Linked DNA regions of Homo sapiens: all the other regions are linked to region 2. The links are contacts of gene promoters, found by promoter capture Hi-C in blood cells and fetal thymus (Javierre and others, 2016). All regions are on one chromosome and are shown on one strand. Each heading gives the region's core, a stretch centred on a gene start or on the middle of the fragment in contact. The rest is flanking DNA. Distances are from core to core; before and after follow the strand shown.

Evidence for each region. The method cuts DNA at HindIII sites, captures the fragments that hold promoters and counts their contacts. A CHiCAGO score of 5 or more calls a contact.
Region 1: a contact is called between a fragment that was not itself captured here and the fragment with the promoter of PXDNL in region 2, in 1 of 17 cell types (activated CD4 T cells). The highest score is 5.4, in activated CD4 T cells.
Region 3: a fragment that was not itself captured here is called in contact with the fragment with the promoter of PXDNL in region 2 in 1 of 17 cell types (total CD4 T cells); the score reaches 5.4 in total CD4 T cells.

What each region holds. Positions count from the first base shown.
Region 1 is chr8:52,067,812-52,071,038 of GRCh38, reverse strand. No RefSeq gene overlaps it. Among named protein-coding and RNA genes, the nearest start is that of ST18-AS3, 120 kb to the left of the region's middle. The HindIII fragment of the contact is 1,320 bases long and covers 887-2,206 here.
Region 2 is chr8:51,807,761-51,810,807 of GRCh38, reverse strand. It overlaps PXDNL (peroxidasin like), which reads left to right and starts at 1,363. Exons shown (of 23, transcript NM_144651.5): 1 at 1,363-1,627. The coding sequence starts at 1,464. RefSeq lists enhancers at 946-1,467, 1,468-1,990. The HindIII fragment of the contact is 1,936 bases long and covers 1,218-3,047 here.
Region 3 is chr8:52,094,094-52,097,384 of GRCh38, reverse strand. No RefSeq gene overlaps it. Among named protein-coding and RNA genes, the nearest start is that of ST18-AS3, 99 kb to the left of the region's middle. The HindIII fragment of the contact is 4,858 bases long and covers 1-3,291 here.

The DNA of each region.
Region 1 (3,227 bases), core at 297-2,796, 260 kb before region 2:
GTGAGTTCCCAAAGTGTGAGGGGGGAAACCTACCTCTGAAAACACATCCCCACTGGAGAACCTGAAAATCCAGATCCCAGGAGAAGGATTTAACTTTACCTGGAGCTGAAACGGATTTAGGGAGCCATGCAAAACATAAAAGTAGAAGCAGCAGCAGGAAGAGCCTTGTAGGCACTCCCAGTATCCAGCCTGGGCCCAGGGAAGACAACCCTGACTATATCTCACAGGGGCCTTGGGGAAGGCAGCCAGTGGAATTAGGGAGGGGTCACAGGGTGAACGGGGTAAAAGAAGTTTCCAGCTGAATTTTGTAATAATTTTGACTGAGCACAAATTTCCTTGAGCAGAATCTGGGGATTGAATGGGAACTGTTGCAGATATGAGCACAGGAGCCACTGCTGGTATTGTGGGCAGATGAGGAGGGATGAGGCCTGAAAGCTGCACTTGCTTTCTCAGGAACGAAGCTTATGGCCTAGGGCAAGGTCTGAGTCCCATGCACTGGCTGCCTGGTTCTAAACTCGTCACTGCTGGCAGAGCACTGCAGGAGGAAGACCGGCCTCGCCAACTGCATGGGAGCTGAGTGGGGCCAATCACTACTGGCTTTCCCCCATTTCCCTGGCAAGCTAGATGGCACAGCAGAGGCAGCCATAATCCCCTCTGGAACATAACCTCATTGGCCTGAGAACAATCTTTCATCCCCCATAGTGGCTGTGGCAAGCCCTGCCCAAGGAGAGTCTGAGCTCGGACCTGCCTAACCCTGTTCCCACCTGATGGCTTTTCTTTACCCACCCTTGCAGCTGAACATAAAAGACATAAACCCTGGGGAACTTTATGGCCCTGCCCACTGCCTACCCTGGCCTTACTCATCCTGGCCAACTTAGGGCAAGCTTATATCTCCCTTCTACGACTGCAGCTGGTGCTCTCTTGAAAGTGCCACTTCCTGGCTGGAGGCCACCAACTCAGGCCGTTACAGCAAATCATGACAGAATAACTCTACTCCCAAGAAATAGGGTTAACAATAGCTAATTCCAATGCCTGCAACCAGAGGTCCTGAGCCTACCCATGTATCAACTTCACTACTAGAATACCCAGCATCTGAGAAAGCCAGCACACTAAACACATCTACAACCAATGACTGTCACACAGTCTACTTCACTCTCCTGCCACCTCCATCAAAGCAGGTGCTGGTACCCATGGCTGGAAGACCTGAAGACAGATAACATCACAGGACTCTTTGCAGACATTCCCCAGCACCAGCACAGGATAAGGTAGCCCCACTGGGTGGCTAGACCCAGAAGAGCAATAACAATCACTGCAGCTCTCAGGAAGCCCCATCCCTAGGAAAAGGGTGAGAGCACCACATCAAGGGATCACCCCATGGGACAAAAGAATCTGAACAGCAGCTTTTGAGTTCCAGATCTTTCCACTGAAATAGTCTACCAAAATGAGAAGGAACCAGAAAAGTAATTCTGGTAATACAACAAAAGAAGGTTCTATAACACCCCCAAAAAATCACATGAGCTCCCCAGCAATGAATCCAAACCAAGAAGAAACCTCTGAATTGCCAGAAACAATACAGGATATGAATGAAACAATACAGGATATGATATGAATGAAAAATTCTCTAGATAAATAGATAACATGAAAGAAAAAACAACCATAACTTCTTGAAATGAAAGCCACACTTAGAGAAATACAAAATGCACTGGAAAGTCTCATGAATAGAATCAAACAAGTATAATAAAGAAGTTCAGAGCTCAAAGACAAGGTTTTTGAATTAACCCAATCCAACGAAGACAAAGAAAAAAGAATTTTTTAAAAATGAGCAAAGCCTTCAAGAAATTTGGGATTATGTTAAATGGCCAAAACTAAGCATAATTGGTGTTCATGAGGAAGAAGAGAAATCTAAAAGTCTGGAAAACTTACTTGAGGATATAATTGGGGAAAACTTCCCTGTCCTTGCTAGAGATTTGTACATCCAAACACAAGAAGCTCAAAGAACACCTGGGAAATTCATTGCAAAAAGATTGTCACCTAGGCACACAGTTATCAGGTTAACTAAAGTCAAGACAAAGGAAAGAATTTTAGGAGCTGTGAGAGAAAAGTATCAGGTAACCTATAAAGGAAATTAGGGTCTGGGGTTCTATCTTTAGCCTCCTCAAACAAAATAATTGTCAGCTGAGAATTTTATATCCAGCAAAACTAAGCTTCATAAATGAAGGAAAGATAAAGTCTTTTTCAGACAAACAAATGCTGCAGAATTGGCCACTACCAAGCCAGCACTATAAGAAATGCTAAAAGGAGTTCCAAATCTTGAAACAAAACCTCAAAATACACCAAAATAAACCTCCTTAAGGCAAAATTCTCATAGGGTCTATAAAACAATAACAGGATTAAAAAAACACAAGGTATTAAGGCAACAACTAGCATGATGAATAGAATCATACCTCACATCTCAATACCAACACTGAATATAAATGGCCTAAATCCTCCATATAAAAGATACAGAATGGCAGAATGAATTGAAAAGTCCATCAACCAAGTATCTACTATCTTCAAGAGACTCACCTAACACATAAGGACTTACATAAACTTAAGGTAAAGGGGTGGAAAAAGATGTTCCATGTAAATATAAACTAAAAGCAAGCAGGAGTAGCTATTCTTATATCAGACAAAACAAATGTTAATGCAACAACAGTTTAAAAAGACAAAGAGAACATTATATAATGATAAAAGTCTTACTCCAACAGGAAAGTGTCATGATTCTAAATATATAGGGACCTAACACCAGAGCTCCCAAATTTATTAAATAATTACTAGCAGACCTAAGAAATGAGATAGACAGTAGCACAATAATAGTGGGAGACTTCAATACTCCACTGACAGCACTAGACAGGTCATCAAGACAGAAAGTCAACAAAGAAACAATGGACTTAAACTATACCCTAGAACAAATGGACTTATCAGATATTTACAGAACATTCTATCCAACAACATGCATTCTATTCATCAGCACATGGAACATTCCCTAAGATAGACCATATGATAGGCCACAAAACAAGTCTCAATAAATTTAAGAAAATCAAAATTGTATCAAGTACTCTCTCAGACCACAATGGAATAAAACTGGAAATTAACTAGAAAAGGCACTCTCGATACTATATAAATACATGTAAATTAAATAATCTGCTCTTGGATGATATTTGGGTCAACAATGAAATCAAGATAGA
Region 2 (3,047 bases), core at 114-2,613:
AAGATATTTTTATATTTTTGTATTTTATATATTTTATATTATTTATATTTTTTGTATTTTATATTTTGAACTGCAAACAAGGCACAAACCTGCAGGTCTTGTCTATGTCCTCCAAATCACAGGCACTGCCAAGAGCATAGTGATTGTTGGGATTTAAAGGAATAAATTTCGTTTTTTGGCTTTATTGGTATACTTGGACAATAAAAGTCATGTGAACAATGTCAAATGTAAAGTTTAAAATAAATCATTCTTGTTCATGGAGATTAGTTTTGTTTTTTAGATCTTTTTACATTTTAATCTCCCCAAAATCACATATTTAGATATGAACATTTTGCCAAAAGAGGGCAGTATTCGCCTACAGTAGAATGTAAAGGGACTGAAACATTTCTGCAGAGACAAGGATGAACTTATTTTCCTCTTAAGATTGGTCTACTAGTCTGATCATCTGGGATTGACCATGCAAGTTTTAATTTGTTTTCTATTACTTTTATGGATTTAAAACATTTTTGTTTGAAAATGTTAGTCTTTAAAGATAAAGCCAAAAATCTGTTTAAAAATACCTGCTTACAGAATGACCAAAAAGTAGATGTTTTCATATTTATTAAGTTTTCAGACACGTCCTCAACGAGGTGCTGCTCACTTCAGGGAAAGATGGCCAGTTCAAACTGCTGATGAAAAGTCTGCAACCAGCAAGACCACTGCTGCCAGTGTGTCCTGAGGGAGCTTGCATCTGTTTGACTTTACATATACATACTTAGGTTTGTCCATCAGTTGTATCCTCTTGAAGGAGGTATGTGAGTTCATGGTTTTAAGCATATAAATTTAAACGTTAAAAGAAGAAATCAGAAGTAGCCCGTTTGAGTCTTACATGAGTGAAATGTGTTGGGTTTCAGCAGCAGAATATATAGAAGGAAATGAAACAATTTTTATTAAAGAGCATAGTTTGGAATAAAGAAAGAATATGTGCACCTAGATGAACGAATTAGAACTCTGCCTGCCCTTTAGGGTTTGGTAATGTTACCAGATAAAAAAGAAGAAAAGCTGTTCTGCATTGTTTCAATACATTCTTAATCAACTTGGGCTTCAAGAGGACAGCTGGAGGCTAAGAGGTCGGGTTTTTCATCAAATGCGCAGTGGAAGTAATTTTGGAAAAGTTTGTTTGCATTATGCTGCCTAAAACACGGTGTTTTAGAAAGAGGCTTTTGCATTGAAAAGCTTCTCGTCCTCGCCTCTGGGAGTCTAGTGCTTCCTAGAGCTGCTTGTGCCCTCAGCCCTGTAATGTGATATCCCTCCTCCTGGATTGGTCAGAGGGGTGTCCTTTCCCTGGGAGCTGCTTTCCACCACGGCTCCCAAACTTGGCTCAGTCCAGCAGCCACCATCACCACCACTGCGGTTGCTGCTGCAGCTGCAGCTGCTGCTCTCCCTCCGGCTGCTTCTTCGCGTGGCCAGCAGCGAATGGAGCGATGGAGCCCAGACTGTTCTGCTGGACCACTCTCTTTCTCCTGGCCGGGTGGTGCCTGCCAGGGTTGCCCTGCCCCAGCCGGTGCCTTTGCTTTAAGAGCACCGTCCGCTGCATGCACTTGATGCTGGACCACATTCCTCAGGTACCACAGCAGACCACAGTTCTGTAAGTTCACATAAATTCCCCAGAAACCCTCTTCCCCAATGCTTCATTGCTTCTCTGCTAGGACCTGTGTCCTTTTAATTTACGATTCCTAATGCTCTCCCTGCTTGTATACTTAGAAGAGGCTTTTCACTTTTCAAACAATTTCATGGTTCTGCTCTGTTAGACTAGAAAATGTAAGCAATGATGAGTTGACATAAATATATTTGTTTTGGATTCAGTTCTCTTCCAGCATCTTCCAGAACTTAGCATTGAGAATTCTCGTCTTCATTCTTCCTTCAATAATTTTCCTGCATACTTTCTCAATTTATTCCTATTCATCCTCTACTCCCAAGTCTTTGGGCCTCTTAATTGGTCAGCACGTGTCTGCCCCATTTGGAAGGAACTAATTTAACTTTAGAGTGTGGTTTCAATTGATTATGTGCTGACAAATTGTTAGGCTTTGTACTGTGTGTACCTCCTGGGAGGGTGAAGTCCTGAGCCCTCAGCACTTGAAGCACTGTCTGTCTCCAGAACAGACCCTCAAATGGTCCAGTAGAGTTCTTGAATGCTTAAAAGCCTTGTGGAGCAGCCGCTTAGACTAATCGGCATCTAGGAGGCATTACGGGATAGTAGGGCAAACCAGAATTTGGAAGTCAAACAGGTCTGAGTTCAAATCCTATCTTCTCATCTTTAATATTCAGATAATAAACCCAAACATTTAGATTTATTTAGATTAAATTAAGTCATAATTAGATAATTAGAAGGGCAAATCACCACAAAAGAAGAAAAGGATCTGTTTCTAGGGTCTATTTTTAAAGAAAGAAAAAGACGACAAATTCAAAAATTTAAGAAAAAATAAAAGAAGAAAAGGAAAAATGCTGAAAGATGCAGACTAAAGAGGTTTCCTGCTCTATAATAAATATTTTGTGGGTTGTGTCATGTTCATGGAAGACAAAACTGCTTGCAGTGTTTCAAGTCCATTCTTGGGCAGAGGGAAATAGCTTAAAATTCCTGGAATTTTGAGATATAAATGTTTAAGAGGATCATTGCCACACATTTGTCAGTCATAATCGTGAAATGAGGACTTGGTAATAAAAAGTCCAATTTGATGGTATTTACATAGAAAATGACATATTATCCATAGATTTTCATTTCTATAAAGCATTTCATTAATTTTATATGCATGCAGATATCAAAATACGTCTTACTGTAATAACTGAAAGGATTCTTGAACTTGGGAGCACTGCTTATTGCTATGTGGACAGCACAGTTCTGCAAGTGCCTTCAGACTCAGAACCAGCCATTTGTCCTTTTGTAATGACAGTTTTTTGGTAGATAGCAGCAAAGCCTTGGAGAAGGGGCTGCTTGTCTAATGAAGTATCTTGGAGCTACATGAGGTACAACTCGACCTAAATTTTGTTTCCTAGGTGTTTCAAAGAAG
Region 3 (3,291 bases), core at 576-3,075, 290 kb before region 2:
TAACGATTCAGTTGAAACAAAGACTATCACAGACTGTAAGTCATAGACTCTATATGGATGGGAAGATGTCCTTACTGTGGAAAGGACCAAGTTGCAGATCTAGTTCTTTTATGTGTGATCTCGGATGAGTTTCTTACCTTTCTTTAACTGTTTCTCCCACTGTAGGAAACAGATTTAACTTAATTCAATATTTGTTGCACTTTCATCTAAGAATAAAAGACCCAGTCTCCTAGGTAAGTCCTTTAAACAACTCAAAGACGTCATGAGAGCAAGAGCTAGACTGGATACATTTTTGATATTGGGCTTTGCTTAAAAGGTAGGACCAGGAACCTCTCTTCTGCTGAATCAACACAGTGTCATTACCTCCGTAGACACGGGCCAAGTGCTGCCAATGAGGAAAAGGTGGGATCCCAGGAAAGAGATGCTGAGGTGAAATTTGCATGGAGAAAACTTAATGGGGAATGCCCTTGGGATCAAGTCCTAAGGAGTGAGAAGAAAGCAGGATAGGACAGAAGGAAGAGTTGAACCGTGATGTAGTCACCACCAAGATCTTGGCTGAGTCAAGGGAAGCTCTGGAACTGAGACAGCCTTGTAGAGCTCTTTCACTTTGAGGCAAGGGGACTTGCCCTTTGTAAACCCAGCCATCCCAGATAGATGAGTCCTTAGACTAGCAGCCCAGGAAAGGTTATACTACCTGGTCAAGTCAGCTCGGTTCTAGAAAGGGACTCAGCTGCCAGGGGCCAGTCACCCATACTCCCAGCAGCTGGGAGCTCAGTGCTTCGCCCTGGCCGTTAGAGACCTGGGTGGTGCACACAGCATGCACCTCAACTGCATTCCATTCACCAAGAAGCCTTCTTTCTCATCACTACATCGCAAAGCAGAATGTAGCAAGCAGTGTGATAGAGGGAAAAAATATCCTCAAAATAATGCTCTGAGAGCACACAAGAATAACTCTGATGAGATCAAAGAAAGCCCAGTGGAAGCAATAGCATTTGAGCTGGAATTTGAAGAATAAATGGAATTTTGGAAAACAGGATAAAAGATGGGCATTCTAAGTGAAGGAAACAGCATGAAAAGAGGAAAGATGTAACATGCAGGATGGAGTTTTTAGGTAAATATTGAGTGGTACAAACTGACTAGAGTAAAGGCAATAAAGGAAAAGAAACCAGGTGTCACAAAAGAATGGTGAGAGAAGACAGGAGGAAGCCTGGGGCCTACAATAAGGAATTGTGACATATCAGTGACACTCAGCAATGAGGTACAGTGAGCTAATAAGATGGACATTTAACCTGTAAAGTCTGTTTTAGTGCACAGTCTGTCACAAGATAAAACAATAGCTCTGGGCAGCATTATTTATAAGTATTAGGAACATCCTCAAGTTCTAGCTTCTGAATCATTTGGCTATTGAAGGAAACTGTGATTTAACTCAAGTCTCTACCACATATCCTATGGGCATTCCAGCACCTTCTCCAATACATATTAGGGTTCTCAGAAAGAGTACGTTCTTCTGGTCGCCACTCACTCTAAATTCCTGCCCCACAAAATTTCTGGTCACTGCTCAAAGCAGTCACAGCTGCTGGCCTTGTTCCACAAGACCTCTTCCATCATGAACCCAAGCAGTGCCCTCCAGGGAGGTTGATGACTAGCCTAAGATCACAGGGCCACCAAGATGCTGGCCCAGAATTAAGACCAGGTTTCCCTGACCCCAAGCCCAGCTTTTCAATCTTTCAACATTAGTGGTTGCAAAGGGGGAAAAATAAAACTCCCAGTACCATGTACAGATTTTACTGTTTTAATGTTTAATGTAACTTTTAAAGAAGACATATTATAATGTCTAATATATATTCACTACAAAGATGTGTGTGGCCATCTACTTATTATAATAGAATTATGAATTCTTTTCTCTGATTCACATTGTTTGCCTTTAATAAAAGATAAGGAATTTCATATATCCTTAGGAGAGTCACTTTAGCAACAGTTGGATAAATAATATAACATTATAAAAGCCTACAATTTTGTTACTAGTTCATAAACTATTCATTTTGTTTAAAAAATCAGAGTAATAAATGGCTACAATTTCAACAATATAATTTACAGTAATAGACTCATTCTCTTTTCCCTCAATAGAAAAGCTGAAAGAAGTGCAAAGTCTGTGACTGTGTTTAATATATATTGCAAGCAGCTCTTCTTTACTGTATTTCAGGAAGGATTCAGGAAAAAAAAAGTCTCCATATGTTTCTCTTGTCTGACTTCTAGTGGAAATAACAATAATCTTTTTCATTGTTATTTAATATCTGTTTGCATTTTTTTCTTGCAAATTCTTCTTTGACATGCAAGTGCGTTAGCAAGTAAATATAGAAAAGAAATTACACAAAGAAACACTACAAACAGGTTTTTAAAAATGTTAATCATTAAATATACACATTCTTTATCAGCAGCCATTTCTTTACATAGCAAATTGTTTATCCTGCCTTCCTCCAATAGTTCCCGAAGAATTTTCCTAACACCTATATATTTTTATAAAATTTTTATCATTAAACAGAGGAGTTGAAAAACCTGATCAGTAAAAACCTTCTTGAAAAACTAGTCTGAAGAAAAAAAATCTGTAATTTTATCCAGAAAAAACATATTACCAGGTGCTTTTGTGTGTCCTACTGTTCTCAGAAAACATGAAAGTTGGATGTGAATCTTGTTTTGATTATACATGCCAATCTGATTTATCAGAGTGCAATGACGAGGTGGTGTGTTAAAGTAGGACAGCTCTGGTGCAGCTAGACATTTTTACACCTACCCTCCCCCCGCCCCCCATTTTTAAAATTGCATTTCCCAAAACAACAAAAACAGCAAGGATTAAAAGAACCCAAAAAAACAAAAAACAAACAACAAACAAAAAACCACGAGCATGAAGAATACTACCCAGTGAGAGAGATCTCTGTACAACTGCATAGGTTTTGCTCTGGCTCAATGGTACCTGCAAGACATGAATGAGGGTAAAATCTAGTCCTAACCAAACTTACGTCCTGGTCTAGGCTGTGGCACAAGAGGAAATGGCTCTGCCTTCTTCTAATTCATCTACTTAAAAGGGGCTCCCTACTTGGGAGGCTGAGGCAGGAGTAACCCTGGAGCTCAGGAGTTGGAGTCCAACCTGGGCAAGAGAGAAAGACCCATCTCTACAAAAGCAAGGGGGACCACTGTGTGTAATTCACTCAAAGGAAGTCTTTGTCCTCTCAGTGGCCTTAAAACAAGAGTAAACAAAAGAGAAGAGCGGTGAGGAGTGTGATGTTTACAGTG